Linked DNA regions of Homo sapiens: region 1 is linked to region 2. Evidence: promoter capture Hi-C in human tissues and cell types (Jung and others, 2019). All regions are on one chromosome and are shown on one strand. Each heading gives the region's core, a stretch centred on a gene start or on the middle of the fragment in contact. The rest is flanking DNA. Distances are from core to core; before and after follow the strand shown. Region 1 overlaps EPB41 (erythrocyte membrane protein band 4.1). Region 2 holds the start of MED18 (mediator complex subunit 18).

Evidence for each region. The method cuts DNA at HindIII sites, captures the fragments that hold promoters and counts their contacts. A contact is called where the count stands out against the background at its distance.
Region 1: a contact is called between a fragment that was not itself captured here and the fragment with the promoter of MED18 in region 2, in 1 of the 25 tissues and cell types used here (spleen).

Annotation. Positions count from the first base shown.
Region 1 is chr1:28,929,252-28,934,865 of GRCh38, forward strand. All of the region lies in intron 1 of EPB41 (erythrocyte membrane protein band 4.1), which reads left to right. All of the region lies in intron 1 of LOC124903886 (a long non-coding RNA gene), which reads right to left. Among named protein-coding and RNA genes, the nearest start is that of EPB41, 17 kb to the left of the region's middle. The HindIII fragment of the contact is 5,237 bases long and covers 1,024-5,614 here.
Region 2 is chr1:28,325,314-28,330,505 of GRCh38, forward strand. MED18 (mediator complex subunit 18) reads left to right here and starts at 3,727. Exons shown (of 3, transcript NM_017638.3): 1 at 3,727-3,867. RefSeq lists enhancers at 3,761-4,268, 4,269-4,776. The HindIII fragment of the contact is 33,273 bases long and covers 1-5,192 here.

The DNA.
Region 1 (5,614 bases), core at 2,392-4,891, 600 kb after region 2:
GTCTTGCTCTGTCGCCCAGGCTGGAGTGCAGTGGCGCTGTCTCAGCTCACTGCAAGCTCTGCCTCCCGGGTTCACGCCATTCTCCTGCCTCAGCCTCCCAAGTAGCTGGAACTACGGGTGCCTGCCACCGTGCCCGGCTAATTTTTTGTATTTTTTTTTTAGTAGAGACGGGGTTTCACCGTGTTAGCCAGGATGGTCTCGATCTCCTGACCTTGTGATCCGCCCGCCTCGGCCTCCCAAAGTGCTGGGATTACAGGCGTGAGCCACTGCGCCCGGCCAATTTTTACTATTTTTTTTGAGACGGAGTTTCACTCTTGTTGCCGGGGCTGGAGTGCAATGGCGCGATCTTGGCTCACCGCAATCTCTGCCTCCCGGGTTCAAGCGATTCTCCTGCCTCAGCCCGCCGAGTAGCTGGGATTAGAGGCATGCGCCACCACGCCTGGCTAATTTTGTATTTTTAGTAGAGACGGGGTTTATCCATGTTGGTCAGGCGGCTAGTCTCGAACTCCTGACCTCAGATGATCTGCCCGCCTTGGCCTCCCAAAGTGCTGGGATTACAGGCGTGAGCCACCGCGCCTGGCACTGGGCCTTCTTTTTTTTTTTTTTTTTTTTTTTTAAAGACTTTATTGAGATATAATTAACATATCATATGATTTAACCATTTAAAGTATACGATTTAATGTTTTTTAGTGTGTTTATGGGGTTGTGCAGCCATCATCTCAATCTAATTTTTGAACATTTTCATCCCCCTGAAAAGAAACTTCATATTCATTAGCAGTCATTCCCCATTCCCCACCCTGCAACCCCAGTCCTAGGTAAGCACTAACTACTTTATGTCTCTCTAGATTTACCTATTCTAGACATTTCATATAAATAGAATTATACAATATGTTGCTTCCTTTTTTTTTTTTTTTTTTTTTAAAGAAACAGAGTCTTACTCTGTTGCCCAGGCTGGAGTGCAGTGGCACCAACATAACTCACTGCAGCCTTGAACTCCTGGGCTCAAGTGATCCTACCGCCGCAGCCTTCTGAGTAGTTGGAATTACAGACACACACCACCACACCAGCTAATTAAAAAAAAAAAAATTTTTTTTTTTATAGAAACGGGGTCTTGTCATATTGCCCAGGCTGGTCTTGAACTCTTGGGCTCTAGACATTGTCCTTCCTCAGCCTCCCAAAGTGCTGGGATTACAGGCATGAACCACTACATCTGGCCCTGAACTGTGTGTGTGTGTGTTTTTTTTTTAATTTGAGACTGAGTCTCTCTCTGTTGCCTGGGCTGGAGTGCAGTGGCACGATCTTGACTCACTGCAACCTCCGCCTCCCAGGTTTAAGTGATCCTTCAGCCTCAGACCCCCTAGTAGCTGGGATTATAGGCACACACCACCATGCCTGGCTAATTTTTGTATTTTTAGTAGAGACGGGGTTTCACCTTGTTGGCCAGGCTGGTCTCGAACTCCTGACCTCAGGTGATCCGCCCGCCTCAGCCTCCCAAAGTGCTGAGATTACAGGCGTGAGCCACCGCACCTGGCCCATTTCATCACCTTTTTTACCTGTAATTTTTCTCTGGCTGAATATGCTTTTAAGAAATAAAAGTTCTCAATAAAAATCCTGTGGTATATTGTACCTTGTGATAAATAATACCCAAGATCCATGATGGGAAGGGAGATTTTTAAACATATCTTAAATACATGATACTGAAAGTATGAGGCAGACTAAATTATTCCATCAGTATTCAGAATACTTATCAACAGAGACTTTTTAGGAAAAAATACAAAATTATGAATACAAAACTAGGGATGAAAACAAATACCTATCTAGAATGAGAAAACCACAAGTTACATATTTTAAAAAGCTGAAAAATAGGCTGAGCATGGTGGCTCATGCTTGTAATCCCAGCACTTTGGGAGGCTGACGTAGGAGGATAGCTTGAGCCCAGGAGTTTCATACTAGCCAGGGCAACATATGATACCACACCTCTACAAAAAATTTAAAAATTAATGGGACGTGGTGGCATGTACCTGTGGTCCCAGCTACTCGGGAGGCTGAGGTGGGAGGGTCACTTGAGCTTGGGAAGCTAAGGTGGTTCTAGCCTTGGCAACAGAGTAAGACTCTGTCATTAAAAAAAAAAAAAAAAAAGGCTGAAAAATAGCACAAATATCACAAAATTTAGAAAAATAGCTTAACATTTTAATTAACTGATATGGTGTCATAGTTCATTTTTTTCTGTATTTTTGGCTTCATACTCCTCTAAAGAGTTTTATATTATGACTTTGTAATTTTTTTTTTTTTTTTGAGACAAAGTCTCGCTCTGTTGCCCAGGCTGGAGTGCAGTGGTGCGATCTCGGCTTACTGCAACCTCCGCCTCCCGGGTTCAAGCAGTTCTCCTGCCTCAGCCTCCCGAGTAGCTGGGATTACAGGCGCCCGCCACCACGTCTGGCTGATTTTTTTTTTTTGTATTGTTGGTAGAGACAGGGTTTCACTGTGTTAGCCAGGATGGTCTCGATCTCCTGACCTCATGATCCACTCGCCTCGGCCTCCCAAAGTGCTAGGATTACAGGCGTGAGCCACCGCGCCCGACCAATGACTTTGTAATATTTTCAATAGAGACAGCACAAAGATAATTCAGTCTTCCTTTTAGCTTGGTGGCCTTGGCAGGGGCCAGTACAAATGAGGGCCCTGAGCTTAAGCTTATTTTAACAGTAAATCTACTTCTGCATAGTAAGTAATCTTAAGAGATGAACCAAGAGGTTGTAATATGCCTAGTCTATATTTTAAGCATTTATTGCAATTGTTTGGTTATTATAAGTTGCTTCATGTGAATCATTTTCTTGGATTTAATGTTCAACTAGAAACTTGTAGTGTTTTGTTTTGTTTTTTGTTTTTTTTGAAATGGAGTCTTGCTCTGTTGCCCAGGCTGGAGTGCAGTGGCACTATCTCAGCTCACTGCAGCCTCCGCCTCCCGAATTCAAGTGATTCTTCTGCCTCAGCCTCCTGAGTAGCAGGGATTACAAGTGGGTGCCACCACACCTGGCTAATTTTTGTATTTTTAGTAGAGATGGAGTTTCGCCATGTTGGCCAGGCTGATCTCGAACTCTTGACCTCAGGTGATCCACTCTCCTTGGCCTCCCAAAGTGCTGGGATTACAGGCATGAGCATCATGCCTGGCCTCTATATTTTTATCTTTTCTTCCAGGAGCCAAAGCTGCTGCTTTTTCTCCTTTTTTTTTTTTATGCTTCTCTCCTACCTCCTTTAAAAAAAAAAAGCAGATATCTTTTTTTTCCCAAATAATTCATGTTATTGTTAATGTGGAGATGAAAAACAGGCCAAACTAGTTATATATTTTCAGTCTAAGATCTTTCTCCTCTGTTAAGTTTTAGACTAGATATTCTTGTTTTGTCAGGCTCTCAGTACATTTTCTCTTCCATGTCAACTCTAATTCTCTTCATCTCTTCTTTTGGTAGTGAAAATCAAGTAGAATATTAAAAGACCATATGCTCTGCAAATCACTTAGAAGCAAACTTGCTCTGTGATAGTATGGCCTTGATATTTGTCATTAATATTATTCGTTGTTTTATTTTTGGGGTAGCTTTCTGGAGGTCAAGGGTTTACAAGTAGAACAAAGAAATATGAGTAGTTAGTGACCGAAGAACTAAAGCTTTTTTCCAGGATTTTCTTGTTTTACAAAGACACGTATAGACATTTTGTTAGATTTTTAAATACCTCAGTTGACAATTTAAATGTTGAGAGCCCAATACTGTTAGTATTGTGAATATATTTGAGTTGAATATATTTGGTATATTTAGTTTGTATATTTAATTTTTTGAAAAAGTTTTGTCTTTATGTATTTTTTTCTTTAACATTTGAGCTTGAATCAATAAAGGGCAGCAACAGAAAAGCATTTTGGATCAAACATATTTGCCGTGTTCACTATATTTTGATGATAAATAGATGGCAACATTTGTCTTTGAGTCTGTCTTGTTCTGCTCAAAAAGCAGAAAAGATAGGAAGAGAGAAATAAGTAAGATTTACTGCACTTTGCTTAATATTCTTACAGCAATAACACACCTTAGCTGGTGGTATTTTCCTTTTATGAATCATAAAGTCAGACTGGGAGAGGTAACTTATCTAAGGTCATGAAGCTAGTAACTGAGGGTGCTAAGACTCAATGTTTAGCTGACTTCAAAACTGATGTGCAGCACTGTGATTGGATTTGGAACTCTCTTCTATTGTGGTTAGGGTAGTGGTAAACTTTCATCCTATTCAGATTTTCACAAGTCATAATTTATTGTCACCTAGGATGACCAGGATTCAATCTAGGCTATCACATTGCATTTAGTGGTTATGTCTTCCTTAGTCTCCTCCAATCTGTGATAGTATCTCCTTGCATTTCATAGCATTGATGCGTTCATAGAGTATCGGCCAGGTGTTTTACAAAATGCCAGTCGGGGTTTGTCTGATTTTTTTCCACGATTAGATAGTAGATTTTTGGGAAGAATACAGAGGTGATGTGTCCTCAGTATGTCATGTTGGGCAAAGCAAGACCTAGTCTAAAAAAACCACACACACGGTTTTAGATTTACAGATTTATTGTGAAGATAGTACAGAGTCCCTATATACCCCACACTGCAGTTTCCTCTATTATTAATATATTAGTATAGTATATTTTTAACATTAGTAAACTGATATTGATACATTATTGTTAACTAAAGTTCATATTTTATTCAGATTTCCTCAGGTTTTTTTCCTAATGTCTTTTTCCTGTTCCTGAATACCATCCAGGATACCACATTATGTCTAGTACTCATTTCTCCTTACAGTTTTCTTGGTTGTGATTGTTTCTCAGACTTGCTTTGTTTTTGATGATCTTGACAGTTTTGAGGGTTGTTGGTCAGATATTTGTAAGATTGCCTCAGTTGGGATTTGTGTGATGTTTTTGTCATTATTAGACTTGATAATGTGTTTTTGGGAGGAAGACCCAGAGAGGTAAAGTATCATTCTCATTACTTCCTATCAAGGGTACATCCTATCAATATGACTTATCACTACTGATGTTGACCTTGGTCTTAAGGTAGTTTATCAGGTTTCTCTGCTGTAAAGATACTTTCCCCCCTTTTCCATACTGTACTCTTTAGATGAAAGTCACTATGCATAGCCCACACCTAAGGAGTGGAGAGTTGTACTCTACCTCCTTGAGGGCAAAATATCTACACAAATTATTTGTAATTCTGCATCAGAGACTTTATTTTTCCTCATCTGTTCAATCATTTATATCAGTGTGGAGTCATACTGATATGGATATTTATTTTACACTTTGGGTTTTAATCCAGTATTACTTCATTTATTTTGTTGCTCAAATTGTTCCAGCTTTGGCCATCAGGTGCTCTTTTGGTTGGCCTCTGGTTCTTTTGACATTGTGTGTGTGTGTGTGTGTGTGTGTGTGTGTGTGTGTGTATTTTAATACTTTCCTACTTTGTGGTACTACAAAATGCTCCAGGCTCATCTTGCATATTTCCTGCCCGGCTCCTAGAATCAGTCATTTCTCCAAGGAGTCCCCATTCCTTTTATTGGATAATGGCATTAGAAACCAAGATCTGGCCAGGCACGGTGACTC
Region 2 (5,192 bases), core at 2,477-4,976:
TATAGTGAGACCCTGTCTCTACAAAAAAAGGAAAGAAAAAAAGGCTGGGGCTGGGCACGGTGGCTCACGCCTGTAATCTCAGGACTTTGGGAGGCCGAGGCAGGCAGATCACCTGAGGTCAGGGGTTCAAGACCAGCTTGGCCAACATGGTGAATCCCATCTCTACTAAAACTACAAAAATTAGCCAGGCGTGGTGGCTCACGCCTGTAATCCCAGCTACTCAGGAGGCTGAGGCACAAGAATCACTTGAAACTAGGAGGCGAAGGTTGCAGTGAGCCAAGATGGCGCCACTGCATTCCAGCCTGGGTGACAGAGTGAGACTGTTTAAAATATATATATATATATATATTTATGTGTAGATATACATTTTTATATATGTATATATATGTGTATATATGTGTATATATGTGTGTGTATATATATATATGTGTGTGTGTATATGTGTATATATATATGATTCCTCACTTCAAGATGTTTACAATCTATCCAGGGAGATAAGCCATGCACAAAATACATTCACAGATCCAGTGACTCCCCCGAAAAATGAAAAAAATAATTTTGAAAAAATGAATTTAAAAAAGAGTGAAAACAATAAAATAGAATGCACCTGTAATCCAGCTACTTGGGAGGCTGAGGCAGGAGAATAGCTTGAACCCAGGAGGCGGAGGTTGCAGTGAGCCAAGATCGCGCCACTGTACTCCAGCCTGGGCAACAGAGCAAGACTCTGCCTCAAAAAAAAAAAAAAAAAAAGGCCGGGCGCGGTGGCTCATGCCTGTAATCCCAGCACTTTCGGAGGCCGAGGCGGGTGGATCACGAGGTCAGGAGATCGAGACCATCCTGGCTAACACGGTGAAACCCCATCTCTACTTAAAATACAAAAAATTAGCTGGGCGTAGTGGCAGGCGCCTGTAGTCCCAGCTACTCAGGAGGCTAAGGCAGGAGAATGGCGTGAACCCGGAAAGTGGAGTGAGCCGAGATTGCGCCACTGCACTCTAGCCCGGGCGACACAGCGAGACTCCATCTCAAAAAAAAAAAAAAAAAAAGCTAATAACTACTGCTTATTAAATGCCTACACGCCAGGCATGATGGCTCATGCCTGTAATCCCAGCACTTTACGAGGTCAAGATGGGAGGATGGCTTGAGGCCAGGAGTTTGAGACCAGCCTGGGTCTCACATAGTGAGACTCCGTCTCTAAAAAAATTAATAAAATTAAATAAAAATAAAAGAAAATAAAAATATTAAGTGCTTACAATAAGCCAAGCACTATGTTAAATGCTTTATAACCATCTCATTTGATTTTGGCAAACTCCTTTGAAAGTACTATTATTATCTCTATTTTACAAAAAAAGGAAGCTGAGGCTCAGGGAGGGGAAGTGAATGCCCATGGTTGCACAGCTGGGTAGTGGCAAAGTACAGGGGTGGGCCCCATCCTAAGCTCTAGGCATCATATCCTTATCAGAGAAACCCATCCCTGTAATCTCCAGGCCTCCTTCAGGTATTATCATATTGTTTACCCATTTTCTGTCTATCTCCCCTACCTTTTTAAAAAAATTTACCCTTCTTTAAAATACCAGCTAAAATCTGGGTAAACCCTATGGTGCCTCAAATGACCTGTAATTCACTGGACTTTCTATGCTGCAATTAGTGTCTGTATAGGAAAAGAGAGGCCAAAGAAGTTCACAGCCTCCTCTAATCATTACAGCACTTGAGAGCTGGTCACTCTGCCCAATCTTGTGAATCACCAGGTTGATCAGGAGGCACATCCTAAACCCTAGGGCATACGCAATCCTTGTCAATCTTCTTTTCCTACTTAGTACACTCTTTCACGATGATCTCATTCAATGTCATGGCTTTTAGCTACCATCTATGAGGCTATGGTTTTGAAATCTCTATCTGTAGCCCATTTCTCTCCCCTGAACTTTGCCATTTGGGTGTCCCACAGACACCTGATGCTCAGTGGGTCTACATATGAACTCATCTTTCCTGTCTCACCCACACTGCTCTGTGTTTCCTAGCTTAGAGAAAAAAAGTGCTACGATAGCCACCCAAGACATCTGTGACTCCTTCATCTCTGTCTTTACCTCTGGTTAGTCATTAAAGAATTATTTTCCATATATATATAGAGGACAGAGTCTTGCTCTGTAGCCCAGGCTGGAGAGCAGTGGTGCAATTTCAGCTCACTACAACCTCTGCCTCCTGGGTTCAAGCAATTTTGGTCTCTTGACCACCTGAGCCACCTGAGTAGCTGGGACTACAGGCGTGTGCCACCACACCCGGCTAATTTCCTCTTTTTACTTTTTTTTTTGAGCCGGAGTCTTGCTCTGTCGCCCAGGCTAAAGTGCAGTGGTGCGATCTCGGCTCACTGCCAGCTCTGTCTCCCAGGTTCACACCATTCTCCTGACTCAGCCTCCCAAGTAGCTGGGACTACAGGCGCCCGCCACTACGCCCAGCTAATTTTCTGTATTTTTAGTAGAGACAGGGTTTCACCGTTAGCCAGGATGGTCTCGATCTCCTGACCTCGTGATCCACCCCCCTCGGCCTCCCAAAGTGCTGGGATTACAGGCGTGAGCCACCGCGCCTGTCCTCTTTTTACATTTTTAAAATCTTTTTCTGACATTTGTTTCTCAGCTGGAGTTGTACCAAAGCGCCTAACTGGTCGTTTTTCTTTAATTTTTTTCCAGACAGGATCTCCCTCTGTTGCACAGGCTGGAGTGCAGTGGCGCTATCTCAGCTCACTGCAACCTCTGCCTCCTGGACTCAAGCAATCCTCCCACCTCAGCCTCCCAAGTAGCTGGGACTGCAGGTGCGAGCCACTACGTTCAGCTAATTTTTTGTATTTTTTGTAGACACAGGGTTTCACCATGTTGTTCAGGCTGGTCTTGAATTCCTGAACTCAAGCCATCTGCCCGCCTTGGCCTCCCAAAGTGCTGGGATTACAGGCCTGAGCCACCGTGTCCGGCCTGGTCTTTTTTCTCTAGGCTCTCTCCTTTCCCAAACTTTTCTCCATGTTGTAGCCAGGGTTCTTTTAAAGCTCACATGTATTCTTTGGTATGGCACTGCAGAGTACTCCTGGATCTGGACCTACTCCTTTTCCAGACTCTTTTTTTTTTTTGAGACAGAGTCTCTCTCTGTAGCCCAGGCTACAATGCAGTGGCGCGATCTCGGTTCGCTGCAACTTCCGCCTCCCGCGTTCAAGCGATTCTCCCACCTCAGCCTCCCTAGTAGCTGGGATTACAGGCGCGCGTCACCATGCCCGGCTAATTTTTGTATTTTTAATGGAGACGGAGTTTTACCATCTTGGCCAGGCTGGTCTCGAACTCCTGACCTCAAGTGATCCGCCTGCCTCGGCCTCCCAAAGTGCTGGGGTTACAGGCGTGAGCCACCGCGCCCAACCCCTCAGTTCTTTTTTCTTTTGAAACCCACTATAATCTCTGTAAGTCCTATCAGTTCCAAGAGACTTTCTACACAAATACATCTCCAGGTTGTCAAACCTAAAAAGATTTTCCTAGAGCATGGCCTATGACGTCAAGGATCCAGGTAGCGCCCGGAGGAAAGCGCCAAAGGAGGCCGCCATCTTTCATACAGCAGCCCGGAATTTTGCGCATGCGCCTCTGATTGTCTGTCCGCAATGAAGCTCTTCGGCCTTCTCGGCACCCATACGTTTGGGAACGGCAGTTTCGAGGTTTGTGAGACGTCGGCTTCCGACCGGAAGTGAGAAGAGGAGGAAGTTGGCTGGTTGCACCGATCTGGGGGCTTCCCGGGCTCGGGTAACCGGAGTGCTGGTATCTAATCGTCGCTCAAAAGCTCCTAGGTGCGCGGGTGGATATAATTCCCGGCTTCTCGAGAAGACACTACAGCCTCAAGGAGGTGTGCTTCTAGTGTTTAATTGGATACGTGTTATGGATGCCGGCTTAGAAGGACCTATATACCATCATCTTAAAATAACTTCCCCTTGGCTCTCTCTCTCTTTTTTTTTTTTTTTTTTTTTTTGAGACGGAGTTTCGCTCTTGTTGCCCAGGCTGGAGTGCAATGGCGCGATCTCGGCTCACCGCAACCTCGCCTTCCGGGTTCAAGCGATTCTCCTGCCTCAGCCTCCTGAGGAGCTGGGATTACAGGCGCTCGCCACCAGGCCTGGCTAATTTTTTGTATTTTTAGTAGAGTCGGGGTTTCTTCATGTTGGTCAGGCTGGTCTCGAACTCCCAACCTCCAGTTGATCCGCCGGCCTCGGCCTCCCAAAGTACTGAGATTACAGGCGTGAGCCACCGCGCCCGGCCTTGGCTCTCTTTAAAAGGCATTTTTAGGCTAGCCGCAGTGTGGTCTCCCGCCTGTAGTAGTCCCAGCTACTCGGCTTGAGCCCAGGAGTTCGAGGTTATAGTGAGCTAGGAACTCCCCACTGCACTGCAGCCTGGGCTACAGAGCGAGATCCTGTCACCAAAAAAGAAAAGCGTACGGGGGAAGGCATTTTCAGAGAGATAGAACGCCTAGATGTTAGTTTGGTCCAAACTCTGCTACCAACTTGCTGTGTGTATCCTTCTGTCCCTCTCCAAGTCTCAATATCCTCATCTATAAAACGAAGGTCCCTTAAGTCACTTTTTCAGTTCTTCTGAATTTTGTTGCCTCTTTATTATCTCGTTTGAGCCACATAGCCTTGGGAGTTAAAAATCACTGGCCTTTGGCCGGGCACGGTGGCTCACACCTGTAATGCCAGCACTTTGGGAGGCCGGATCACCTGAGTATCACCTGAGGCCAGGAGTTCGAGGCCAACCTGGCCAACATGACGAAACCCCGTCTCTACTAAAAATACAAAAAAAATTAGCTGGGCTTGGTTGCGGGCGCCTGTAATCCCAGCTACTCGGGAGGCTGAGACAGGAGAATCGCTTGAACCTGGGAGGCAGAGGCTGCAGTGAACAGAGATTGCGCCATTGCACTCCAGCCTGGGCGACAAGAGTGAAACTCCGTCTCAAAAAAAAAAAAAAAAAAAAATCACTGGCCTCATTTTATAAGGAAGACATTGAGTCCCAGGGTGAGGGGTTATAGATAGGACTTTCTCAAGATTGCACAGGTAATGTGGAGGTTTCAGAACTTGAGACTAGAAGGTAATGCTGTAACTCCATGACCAGATCTCCTTTCTATATTTCTGTGTCATCAGTTCCTGGAACTGGCCATATAAGGAAATACTCAAACGTTTTTGA